4 separate regions of the Homo sapiens genome follow, and all the other regions are linked to region 1. Evidence: promoter capture Hi-C in 16 types of primary human blood cells and fetal thymus (Javierre and others, 2016). All regions are on one chromosome and are shown on one strand. The core of a region is centred on a gene start or on the middle of the fragment in contact, and the rest is flanking DNA. Distances in the headings are between cores, read along the strand shown. Region 1 has its middle 5.6 kb from the start of KRT37. Region 2 holds the start of KRTAP4-12 (keratin associated protein 4-12). Region 3 holds the start of KRTAP4-4 (keratin associated protein 4-4). Region 4 holds the start of KRTAP4-6 (keratin associated protein 4-6).

Region 1 (2,700 bases), core at 191-2,690:
GGCTGCGTCATTTTGCATTTTCCCAACAGCGTGCAATGGTTCCAGCTCCTCTATATCCTCACCAATACTAGTTGTCTTTTTTTTTTTTTGATAGTAGCCATCCTGAGTGGTGTGAAGTGATGTCTCATGGCTTTGATCTGCATTTCCCTTATGGCTAGTGACTTTGAGCATTTTTTCATATACCTGATGGCCGTTTGTACGTCTACTTTAGAGAAATGTCTATAGAAATCCTTAGCCCATTTTTAAATTAAAAAAAATTATTTTTTACAGTTGAGTTGTAGGACTTCCTTATATATTTTGGAGGCTAACCCTTTATCAGATATATGATTTACAATTCTTTCTCCCATTCAGTAGGTTGTATTTTCACTCTGTTGTTTCTTTTGCTGTGCAAAAGCTTTTTAGTAAGACTAAACTTCTGATCTTTGCTAACTTAAATAAGTAAAAAATAAGTAATTTAATAAGCATTTTTGAATTATGAATGGTGTAAGCATGTAAACACACCAGTAACAGTAAAATCCATTAAAAAACACAACACTTATTTAGTGCTTACCATGTACTCTGTGCTAGACACTATTTTACGTGATTTACAGGTATGGATTTTTTTAAAACTTAAATCCATTAGCTAGGTGCTATTGTCACTCCATTGTGCATAAGCAGAATTTGAGGCACAGAGAGGTCAAGTCACCAGCCCAAGTTCACACAGCTAATAAATGATAGAACCAGAATCTGAACCCAGGCAGGCTGGATCCAAAATTCATTGTCTTAAACCTCTACTATGCTGCATTAAAGGATTTTGTAATAGGTCTTGGTATGAGGTAAATAAGGGGAAATTTCCTGCCTTAGCATGTAGATAAAGAAACTCTAGGATCAGGGAACAAAGGGGAGGGGAAATGAAGATAACTTTTTCAGTATTTAGTCTCTGATGACCTTAAGACCTGGGATAAGAATAAAGCAAACTAGGCAGGGCGCTGTGGCTCACTCCTGTAATCCCAGCACTTTGGGAGGCCGAGGTGGGTGGATCACCTGAGGTCAGGAGTCGGAGACCAGCCTGGCTAACATGGTGAAACTCCATCTCTGCTAAAAATACAAAAAATTAGCCGGACGTGGTGGCGTACGCCTGTAATCCCAGCTATTCAGGAGGCGGAGGCAGGAGAATCTCTTGAATCCAGGAGACGGAGGTTGCAGTGAGCCAAGATCAGACCACTGCTCTCCAGCTTGGGCAACAAGAGCAAAACTCCATCTAAAAAGAAAAGAAAAACAAAAAAAGAATAAAGCAGAATAATAATTTAAAAATACTTAAAATCAAACCAAAGTTTCCCAAGTAACTAGATTTTAAAATCCTATTTAATAGAAAAGAAAACGGTGACTTTTTTTTTTTTTTCAAAGCCTTCTGAGGTGGACTTTTGAAATGATAAAGGTGTTTTGGGTTATCCTTCCTCAGACTCTGTTTTCACCCAGCATGTCTGAGAGCCTTGCAGGCACAGTGGTATCAGGACACACTGCTGGTCGTGGTTTGCAGATGTTTTCCTGGCGTAATTCACATCAGGATGCAGTGTGTGGGCAGCTCCTGTTTCCTTAGGTGTCTTCAGAATTTTTCCTCTGCAGCTGGAGCAGGTGGTTGCAGATTAGACTCACACCCTGTGGACCGCCCAGTGCCTCTGCTTCTGTCTCACTCAGAGATGCGTCAGAACGGTCAGACTCAGAGATGCGTCTGCACCGTGGCACCAAGTGATGCTGTTCTGAACCCAGTGTTTCCCCTCTGCCTGAAGAGAGATTACAGCTCAAAATCTTTTAATCCTCAAGAGAGAAGAGGTGGCCCCTGTGAAGGAAGGAGGGCTGCAGGACTACCTCTGTCTTCTCTCTTCATCTCTGATACCTCCCTTCATGCAACTTGGAATATATGTTTATTTTCAGGGGCCAGAAACTCTTTTTAAAGAGGAGCAAGAGGGCCGGGCACGGTGGCTCATGCCTGTAATCCCAGCACTTTGGGAGGCTGAGGTGGGTGGATCACGAGGTCAGGAGTTCAAGACCAGTCTGGCCAACATGGTGAAACCCCATCTCTACTAAAAATACAAAAATTAGCTGGGTGTGGTGGCGGGTGCCTGTAATCCCAGCTACTAAGGAGGCTGAGGCAGGAGAATCGTTTGAACCCGGGAGGTGGAGGTCGTAGTGAGCCGAGATCATGCCATTGCATTGCATTGCACTGCAGCCTGGGTAATAGGGCGAGACTCTGTCTCAAAAAAAAAAAAAAAAGGGAGGAAGAGGAGGCTCATCTGATCATCTGCAATGTCAAGGATGGGCTCCTTCCCACCTACACAGCTGAGTACATCCCAGACACCTGCCTCATGCCTTCCACCTACTGCCTGTTCCTTTGAGACCAAAGAAAATCAGAAGAGCCCTCTGCTGTACGAAGGACTAGGCAGTGTCTATGTCATTATGCAAAATGGACCATGCAGAGCCCAAGCCAGAGACACATATCAAGCTTTGGAGAGGTGTGTCAGGACGCAAAGGATGCAAAGCTTCAGCTGTGATGCTTAAGAATTAACAAGTGTCATATGTTCTGAGACAGAAGGAACCATGATTTTAGCCAATGGGATAAAATCCTGCCAGAGGATAGGGTCAAGAGAGGGTTCCTATTTAGCAAATCAAAGGGAAGAATTTTAATGCTTCAATTCTCTGGATTATAGTGATGCTATGTGT
Region 2 (2,700 bases), core at 90-2,589, 310 kb after region 1:
TCCCTGTGTCCATGTGATCTCATTGTTCAACTCCCACTTAGGAGTGAGAACATACCTTGCATCTTTTTAATTATAAATAATTGTTTTTAAATATCAGGAGGGATTTAATTGCAAAATGTTCATGCGCAAAATGTTCCTTGAACACTCTAGGAGAGACGCCCTTTCCCTGTTACAGACTGTGTGACTTCAATCTATCTGGGCCTCAAGTACCTTGGATGTAAAGAATTTAGAAAAATTGTGTCTACATAGCAGAATCCTTGTGAAGTATAAACAAGATAACAATTATAGAGGACTCAGAAAATTCCTGACACATAGTAAGCACTCAAAAAATTATAACTATTAGTATTGTTTCATCTTTCATTGGAAGTGTACAGATTAAATACATAATTGTTATTTTGTTCACTAATCACACCATTCTCTAAATAGTTGCTAAATTCTTTCCTATACATGTTTCTTATTTGTCTTGTTTAAGCTTCTGTAGGACAGAAATTAAACTTGATCCTTTGTTTCTTTTCTCCATGTATCAAGCAAAATATCTCCAACATACATTGTGAGAAAAAGCAGCTTTCGAGTATGAGAAAATCTACTTTCAATAACACTTCAGTTAAACACATTCAGTGGGTATCTTGACTTACCAACAAAATAGAACAAAAATGTTCCTTATGATCCCCATCTCTGAAGAACATGCCAACAATAATTTATAAAGGGACCTATCATGCCAATGTATTTTTACTTGTAAAGCAATGAATCATTGCATTATATCTGTTTCAAGCTAAATAGAGTCAATAACATGAAACAGGAATTTCAGTGGGATCTTTTATATCTCACTGACCAGCCACAAAATTCAAAGGAATCACAGTGTTCCTTATTATACACAAGTTACCTCCTATCACCCCCCAAAGATGAATCTTTCATCACATTTTCCTACCAGCATTCTATGTAATTTATTTTTAACCTCTTTGAGAGCAGAGGAGATTTAGTCATCATAAAATCTATTTTCAACTTATTATCCAGGAGTCAAATAAATAAAGAATTAACTTATGAAATCCAATCAAACAATGTCATGTAATGGGTCTACACATCAGAAGACACATCAGATGAAGGAAGGAGAATGAGAGCTGATTCACTTGGCTTAACCAAATTGGATAGCTCAGAATACAACAGGAAAAGGAAATGTTGCCTTTTCTATTTATAGAAATATTTACCAGATAAGGACAACTATCTAATTTACTAAAAAACAACTGATTCTCTATTAGTAATGTGCAAACCACAAGATTATTCACATTGTCATAGTGGTTCTCAGCAGGGTATAAAAAGCAAAAGAGAGAACAAGGAGAGATCAAACTCAGAACACTCACTCTCCTGGAAACCCACCGAGAACCTCCACCCTCTGACACCATGGTCAACTCCTGTTGTGGCTCTGTGTGCTCTGACCAGGGCTGTGGCCTGGAGAACTGCTGCCGCCCCAGCTGCTGCCAGACCACCTGCTGCAGGACCACCTGCTGCCGCCCCAGCTGCTGTGTGTCCAGCTGCTGCAGGCCCCAGTGCTGCCAGTCTGTGTGCTGTCAGCCCACCTGCTGCCGCCCCAGCTGCTGTCAGACCACCTGCTGTAGGACCACCTGCTGCCGCCCCAGCTGCTGTGTGTCCAGCTGCTGCAGACCCCAGTGCTGCCAGTCTGTGTGCTGCCAGCCCACCTGCTGCCGCCCCAGCTGCTGTCAGACCACCTGCTGCAGGACCACTTGCTGCCGCCCCAGCTGCTGTGTGTCCAGCTGCTGCAGACCCCAGTGCTGCCAGTCTGTGTGCTGCCAGCCCACCTGCTGCCGCCCCAGCTGCTGCATCTCCAGCAGCTGCTGCCCCTCTTGCTGTGAATCCAGCTGCTGCCGCCCCTGCTGCTGCCTGCGTCCAGTCTGTGGCCGAGTCTCCTGCCACACCACTTGCTATCGCCCAACCTGTGTCATCTCCACCTGCCCCCGCCCCTTGTGCTGTGCCTCCTCTTGCTGCTAAATCTCTGCTGTGAACACACCACTTCCTTATTACGTCCTTTCCTACAGATGAAGGCTCTCATTGCAAACATGCGGACTGTTCAAGAGAATTGATCTGGGTCCCATAAGCAAACCTCATCCTTAGAAATTCTGTATTTGCATTCTACCTTTTGTCCAAACTCCCTTCCTTCCAAAGGAATTCATTGACAATCTCCTAATAAATTGACAAATTGTCCTCCAACATCCTCCCACCTCTTTGACTTCAGGACATTTATTCATCATGCCTAAGGAATTTGAAGATTGCCTCCATCATTTGTAGGGCCACAGATCTTAAAGCCTCCAACCTTGAAGTCCAGTGAAGTCTCTCTCTTAAAGTCTTTTGCAAACATTTTTGTACCTTGTTATTTCCATGTACCAAAATAAACCTCTATTCTATTGGCACTGAAAATTGAATATGATTCTTATTCTCTTTTTAAAAAGGGTTTTATATTTAGGTCCTGGGTGATTACATTTAACTACACCTGTAGGGCTCACAGCACAGATTAGTCAACCTTCTAACAGAGGTCAACTGACATCGATCACTGCCTAGTTTTTTTCTAGAAAAGTCTTTTCAGGCTTAGGCAAATCAATTAGTCATTTTGTATTCTTTAGACAAAAAGAGTGAAGCTGAAGTCATGAAATATCCATGAATATAACAACAGGGGAAACGTTTTGAAAG
Region 3 (2,700 bases), core at 19-2,518, 270 kb after region 1:
TCTCTATCTACCCATCTATATATGTATAATATATATATATATTCCTAAGGTCCTTTGGCAGAATATATATATTCCCCCAAACCTGTGTGTGTGTGAGTGTATATATATATATACATATACATCAAAAGAAAATTATGGGCCTAGAAGAATTAAAATCACCCAAGGTCAGACATAATGTGTGTGTATGTGTGCGTGTGTGTGTGTATATATATATATATATATATATATACACACACACACGCACACATACACACACATACATACACACACATATATGTGTGTGTATGTGTGTATATTTATATATAGTGTGCATATTTATATATAGTGTGTATATTTATATATAGTGTGTATATACGTGTGTGTGTATACTATATATAGTATATATATGTATATATATAATATATATTATATATATATATATATATTATATATATATAGCAAGGACACTGGGTCCTTTACCTTAGGTTGGCAAGTAAACCTTAGAAATAGAGGAGATGACTCAATGTGATTGTTAAAGCCAGAGAGACAGGAAGGAAAAGTCAGAAGGAAAATCAGCCCCTCAGAGCAGAGAGCGGAGGGACCTGAACCTTTTAGTATAGCTGATCTCTGTAGCCAATTTCCCCTAAAGGCCCTGAAACTGAGTTTTGGAGTGTTGTTTCTCAAGAAAAAGAAGCATCGATAATTCATGACTTAGATGTCCACCTTAAAACAATTCTGCTTTCCCCAGTAGAACATCTAGAAAATGGGTCATGATTCATTGTATGGAAGGTGGCAAGGAATATATCCTAATAGTATTTGTTTTCATGCCACTGGTCACCTGTTTCACATTCAAACCTTCATTGCTCACTTGATCTATAACAAACATGCCATGAGATTAAAGCACAGCTTTCTCCTCCTGAGTCACCAAAAGAAAATTACGGGCCTAGAAGAATTAAAATCACCCAAGGTCAGACATAATGTATTAAGGAAAATGAGGCTGCAGCACATGGTACCTGCAGGCAGATGTCACATGGCAGCTCAAGGAGGAAGCTGCAGCAAGAGGCACACAAGAGGTTGTTCAAGAAGAGCTGACCTGAAGAATCCTAACACACCAGGGGAAGGAAATAATGCTTTTCTCCATGTTGACAAATTTAAGCAGAAAAACAAACTTGCCTAATTTGATAATTGCCTGCTCATCAGAACAAACAATGACAAGGAAAGAGTGCTGCATCCGATGACATCAGCCCTGAGCAGGGTATAAAAGAGGATCTGGGGCAAGGAGACTTCCAAGCCTTCCAAACCCTCCTTCCTGGAAACCCACCCAGAACCTCCACCCTCTGACACCATGGTCAACTCCTGTTGTGGCTCTGTGTGCTCTGACCAGGGCTGTGGCCTAGAGAACTGCTGCCGTCCCAGCTACTGCCAGACCACCTGCTGCAGGACCACCTGCTGCCGCCCCAGCTGCTGTGTGTCCAGCTGCTGCAGACCCCAGTGCTGCCAGACCACCTGCTGCAGGACCACCTGCTGCCACCCCAGCTGCTGTGTGTCCAGCTGCTGCAGACCCCAGTGCTGCCAGTCTGTGTGCTGCCAGCCCACCTGCTGCAGACCCCAATGCTGCCAGACTACCTGCTGTAGGACCACCTGCTGCCGCCCCAGCTGCTGCAGGCCCCAGTGCTGCCAGTCTGTGTGCTGCCAGCCCACCTGCTGCTGCCCCAGCTACTGTGTGTCCAGCTGCTGCAGACCCCAGTGCTGCCAGACCACCTGCTGCAGAACCACCTGCTGCCGCCCCAGCTGCTGTGTGTCCAGGTGCTACAGGCCCCATTGTGGCCAGTCTCTATGCTGCTAGCCCATCTGCTGGCAAACCACCTGCTACAGGACCACCTGCTGCCACCCCAGCTATTGCATTTCCAGCTGCTGCCAGCCTTCCTGCAGTATCTCTAGCAGCAGTAGCTCCTCCTGCTGTGGCTTCAGCTGCTGCAGGCTCTCCTGCTGCATCTCCAGTTGCTGCCGCCCCAACTGCTGCCAGACCATGTGCTGCCGCCCAACCTGCTCTAGTGCTTCTTGCTGCTGAGGCTGTCATCTGGACTCACCAGATTCTCATCAACCAGCATTCTTGATGTAGCTCATCTATGAGCTGAGTTATGGGAAGCTAGTTGGAAAACTTCAGTTCCAACCAATTCTTAGATTGAATCTGGCCTCCAAATATATGCTCCCCCCACATTTTACCTCTCTACCAAATGAACATAAGTTGTAATTTGCTCTGAAATCTGTCAACTATCTTAATTGAAATATTTGCTCTCTGCCATAATTTCTCATATGGAGCTATTCCATTTTAAACAAATATTTATCTAAATAAATCTTAAATAAATTTTCAGGCATAGAAATATACAGATACTGTGTCTCATTATTTTTCTTTTTTGAGTGTGGTCAATTACCAGTCAATTTTTCTGTTGTTCTTCTCTGCAGAATGTAATTTCAGGGGCACCACCTCTATTTCCTCAGCACACTTTATTCTAATATACAATGGTGGTTTCTTAGAGCAAGCACCTGGAACTCTCTTCTTGAAGAGTTTCTCTAGCCAAGGAGCAAGCTCTGGACTGTAGAGTTAAAGCCTCTTGGAATAGTATTCAACAAATGAGTGAGAGTTGGTGAACACATGCTTTAGTTATTTCTCCTCCAGTTGGGAGCATGTTGTACCAGCATGTCAGTGGTCCTCAGAGA
Region 4 (2,738 bases), core at 130-2,629, 290 kb after region 1:
CCTTGCTTTGTGTGAGGCCAAGAAAGATATTGGAGAAAAATGGCATTTGAACTAACTGGTAATGAATAACTAGAAGAATGCTAAGTGAAGGAAATAAAAACATTTCACCCCAAGATATATCTCACTGACATCCTTTAGCTAGTGAACTAGCATTCTAAAGTGCCATCTTAAATTTTAAAATTTGCCATAGGGTTTTGAAAGGGAAACTTGGCATGGGAGACATGCAGGGGTGGTGCAGGGTGCTGAGTCTGCATGTCTTGTTCCAATGGCTATCTTGGGTGTCCAGAGGTTTGGGAGGCATTATTTTGACTTCAGCCCAATGGTGGTGGATTAATTGTTCAAGATTCCCCCTAAGTGAGAGGATTCCTCAGGGCTCTGTGCCTGGTTTGTTTCAAGATTAGCCTCTGGAATTTCTTAAGCAAGAATATAATTAGATAAGATATTAGATAGTATTGCCAGAAGGGAGTGTGCAGAGGGAAGGAATGAAGAGGTGAGAGGGGAGGAAAGGAAGAGAAAGTGGGTGATTTTTAAAATTGAGGTCCACAGTTACATAAGTACCTGTAAGTTAAAGAATATATCTTTTATATTCCTCTCAATGCTTCTTAAAAAATCTTAGAAATAAGTGATACTAAAAAAAAACCCTGCTAGATGTTTTAGCTCAAAATGTATGAAAAAGATTTTAACAAAATGTCAATAAAGCATAACCATTACACATTTGATATTTCAAAAGGCAGATCAAAAACTATGATCCACATTACTCTACTTCAGCCTGTAGGACACTTTTGAAGACAGACGCAGCTCAAGCCCAGATGATGCTTTGTTCCTTAGAAACAGTGAGTCACTACTAACTGTTTCAAGGTGCACCAGAGTGATGAGAATTAACACAGCTTGCAATGACCTAGGAATTTAGTTAGCTCAATGGCCACCCAGAATACATACAATGAATCATAAGCTTCCTTATTTCTCACACTCAAAAACAGGAGCATATTTTCTTTTTTTCCTGTCAGCATTCCAGCTGATTGACACATGCATTTCTCCACTAGAGATCTTAGCCCAATCAGAAGCTCTCCCAAAACGATATCATGATGAGAAACAGACAAGTGACAGTGGCCCTCCCATGTCACATGATACCCAGAGACTGAAGTCATGTGACACTGAAACCAAGGAAAGGAAAACAAGAGGTGACTCATGTGGGAACACCAGGGTGAGAAAAGGGAAATAATCATTTTCTATATATTGGGATTTTTTACTAGAAAAACACAATATAATTTAGTAATTGCATTTGTGTCATATAAACAAAAACAAGGAAACAATCTTCTCATAATCACAAAGGCTCCTCAGCTGGGTATAAAAGGGGACATGCAGCAAGGAGACTCCCAAACTCACGAAACTCACTCTCTTGGAAACCCACCCAGAACCTTTACCCTCTGACACCATGGTCAGCTCCTGTTGTGGTTCCGTCTGCTCTGACCAGGGCTGTGGCCTGGAGACCTGCTGCCGCCCCAGCTGCTGTCAGACCACCTGCTGCAGGACCACCTGCTGCCGCCCCAGCTGCTGTGTGTCCAGCTGCTGCAGACCCCAGTGCTGCCAGTCTGTGTGCTGCCAGCCCACCTGCTGCCGTCCCAGCTGCTGTCCCAGCTGCTGTCAGACCACCTGCTGCAGGACCACCTGCTGCCGCCCTAGCTGCTGTGTATCCAGCTGCTGCAGACCCCAGTGCTGCCAGTCTGTGTGCTGCCAGCCCACTTGCTGCCGTCCCAGCTGCAGCATCTCCAGCTGCTGTCGCCCCAGCTGCTGTGTGTCCAGGTGCTGCAGGTCCCAGTGCTGCCAGTCTGTGTGCTGCCAGCCAACCTGCTGCCGTCCCAGCTGCTGCATCTCCAGCTGCTGCCGCCCCTCTTGCTGTGAATCCAGCTGCTGCCGCCCGTGCTGCTGCCGCCCCTGCTGCTGCCTGCGTCCAGTCTGTGGCCGAGTCTCCTGCCACACCACTTGCTATCGCCCAACCTGTGTCATTTCCACCTGCCCCCGTCCCTTGTGCTGTGCCTCCTCTTGCTGCTGAGCTCCTTGCCTGAAACTATCTCCTCCCCTTCAGCTCACTCCTCACAGAAGCAGACCTTGTGCATCTCATAAACAACTCAGAAGAGGCCATTCCCACCAACTGTGTTTCCATATCCTGGACATATATCTAGGATATATGTCCTGGCTATACATCTAGAATATATGTTCCCCATGTTGACCCAAGTGTGAAATTAGATATTATTTACAGAAAGAAATTAATAGAATTTACCAAATTTTATACCTTATATTTGTATTTATGGATACCAAGTTCTTCTGTCCCAAACATGGAAATTCTTGCAGGGTAACTCGGGGCAAGGTTGTCTCACTCTCAGATTTGAAAGTCTGATTGTTTCACCCTGTATTTCCTTTTACAGCAATGTTTCTGTATCTTATTTTTGCTGCTTCTGAATAAAACTCCACTTTTGTCGCATAGAAATACAATGTTCTTTTTGTGTTGCTTTGTAATGATTGTCCTTAGTTCCTGAGAAATTCCACCCAAAACACAACTGAACGAATCCTATTCTTGCTCTCACCTTCAAGAAAATTGCAACATGTAATGACCTAAAAAAAAGGCAATACATGGATGTTTCCAAAAGTATTGAAAAAAATAAAGATTTTAAGTTAAGTTTTTTTATGAATATGGAGAAGGGTTATATCCCACAGCTAAATTTTCTTAAATATTTTTG

Evidence for each region. The method cuts DNA at HindIII sites, captures the fragments that hold promoters and counts their contacts. A CHiCAGO score of 5 or more calls a contact.
Region 2: the fragment with the promoter of KRTAP4-12 here is called in contact with a fragment that was not itself captured in region 1 in 6 of 17 cell types (activated CD4 T cells, naive CD8 T cells, naive CD4 T cells and 3 more); the score reaches 7.7 in activated CD4 T cells.
Region 3: the fragment with the promoter of KRTAP4-4 here is called in contact with a fragment that was not itself captured in region 1 in 1 of 17 cell types (total CD8 T cells); the score reaches 7.2 in total CD8 T cells.
Region 4: the fragment with the promoter of KRTAP4-6 here is called in contact with a fragment that was not itself captured in region 1 in 5 of 17 cell types (non-activated CD4 T cells, activated CD4 T cells, total CD8 T cells and 2 more); the score reaches 6.9 in non-activated CD4 T cells.

What each region holds. Positions count from the first base shown.
Region 1 is chr17:41,428,860-41,431,559 of GRCh38, reverse strand. No RefSeq gene overlaps it. Among named protein-coding and RNA genes, the nearest start is that of KRT37, 5.6 kb to the right of the region's middle. The HindIII fragment of the contact is 2,088 bases long and covers 397-2,484 here.
Region 2 is chr17:41,122,821-41,125,520 of GRCh38, reverse strand. KRTAP4-12 (keratin associated protein 4-12) reads left to right here and starts at 1,339. Exons shown (of 1, transcript NM_031854.3): 1 at 1,339-2,430. The coding sequence starts at 1,399. The coding sequence ends at 2,004. RefSeq lists an enhancer at 1,659-2,212. The HindIII fragment of the contact is 5,176 bases long and covers 475-2,700 here.
Region 3 is chr17:41,159,316-41,162,015 of GRCh38, reverse strand. KRTAP4-4 (keratin associated protein 4-4) reads left to right here and starts at 1,268. Exons shown (of 1, transcript NM_032524.2): 1 at 1,268-2,367. The coding sequence starts at 1,325. The coding sequence ends at 1,825. The HindIII fragment of the contact is 13,067 bases long and covers 1-2,700 here.
Region 4 is chr17:41,139,185-41,141,922 of GRCh38, reverse strand. KRTAP4-6 (keratin associated protein 4-6) reads left to right here and starts at 1,379. Exons shown (of 1, transcript NM_030976.2): 1 at 1,379-2,490. The coding sequence starts at 1,436. The coding sequence ends at 2,053. RefSeq lists an enhancer at 1,735-2,247. The HindIII fragment of the contact is 3,012 bases long and covers 955-2,738 here.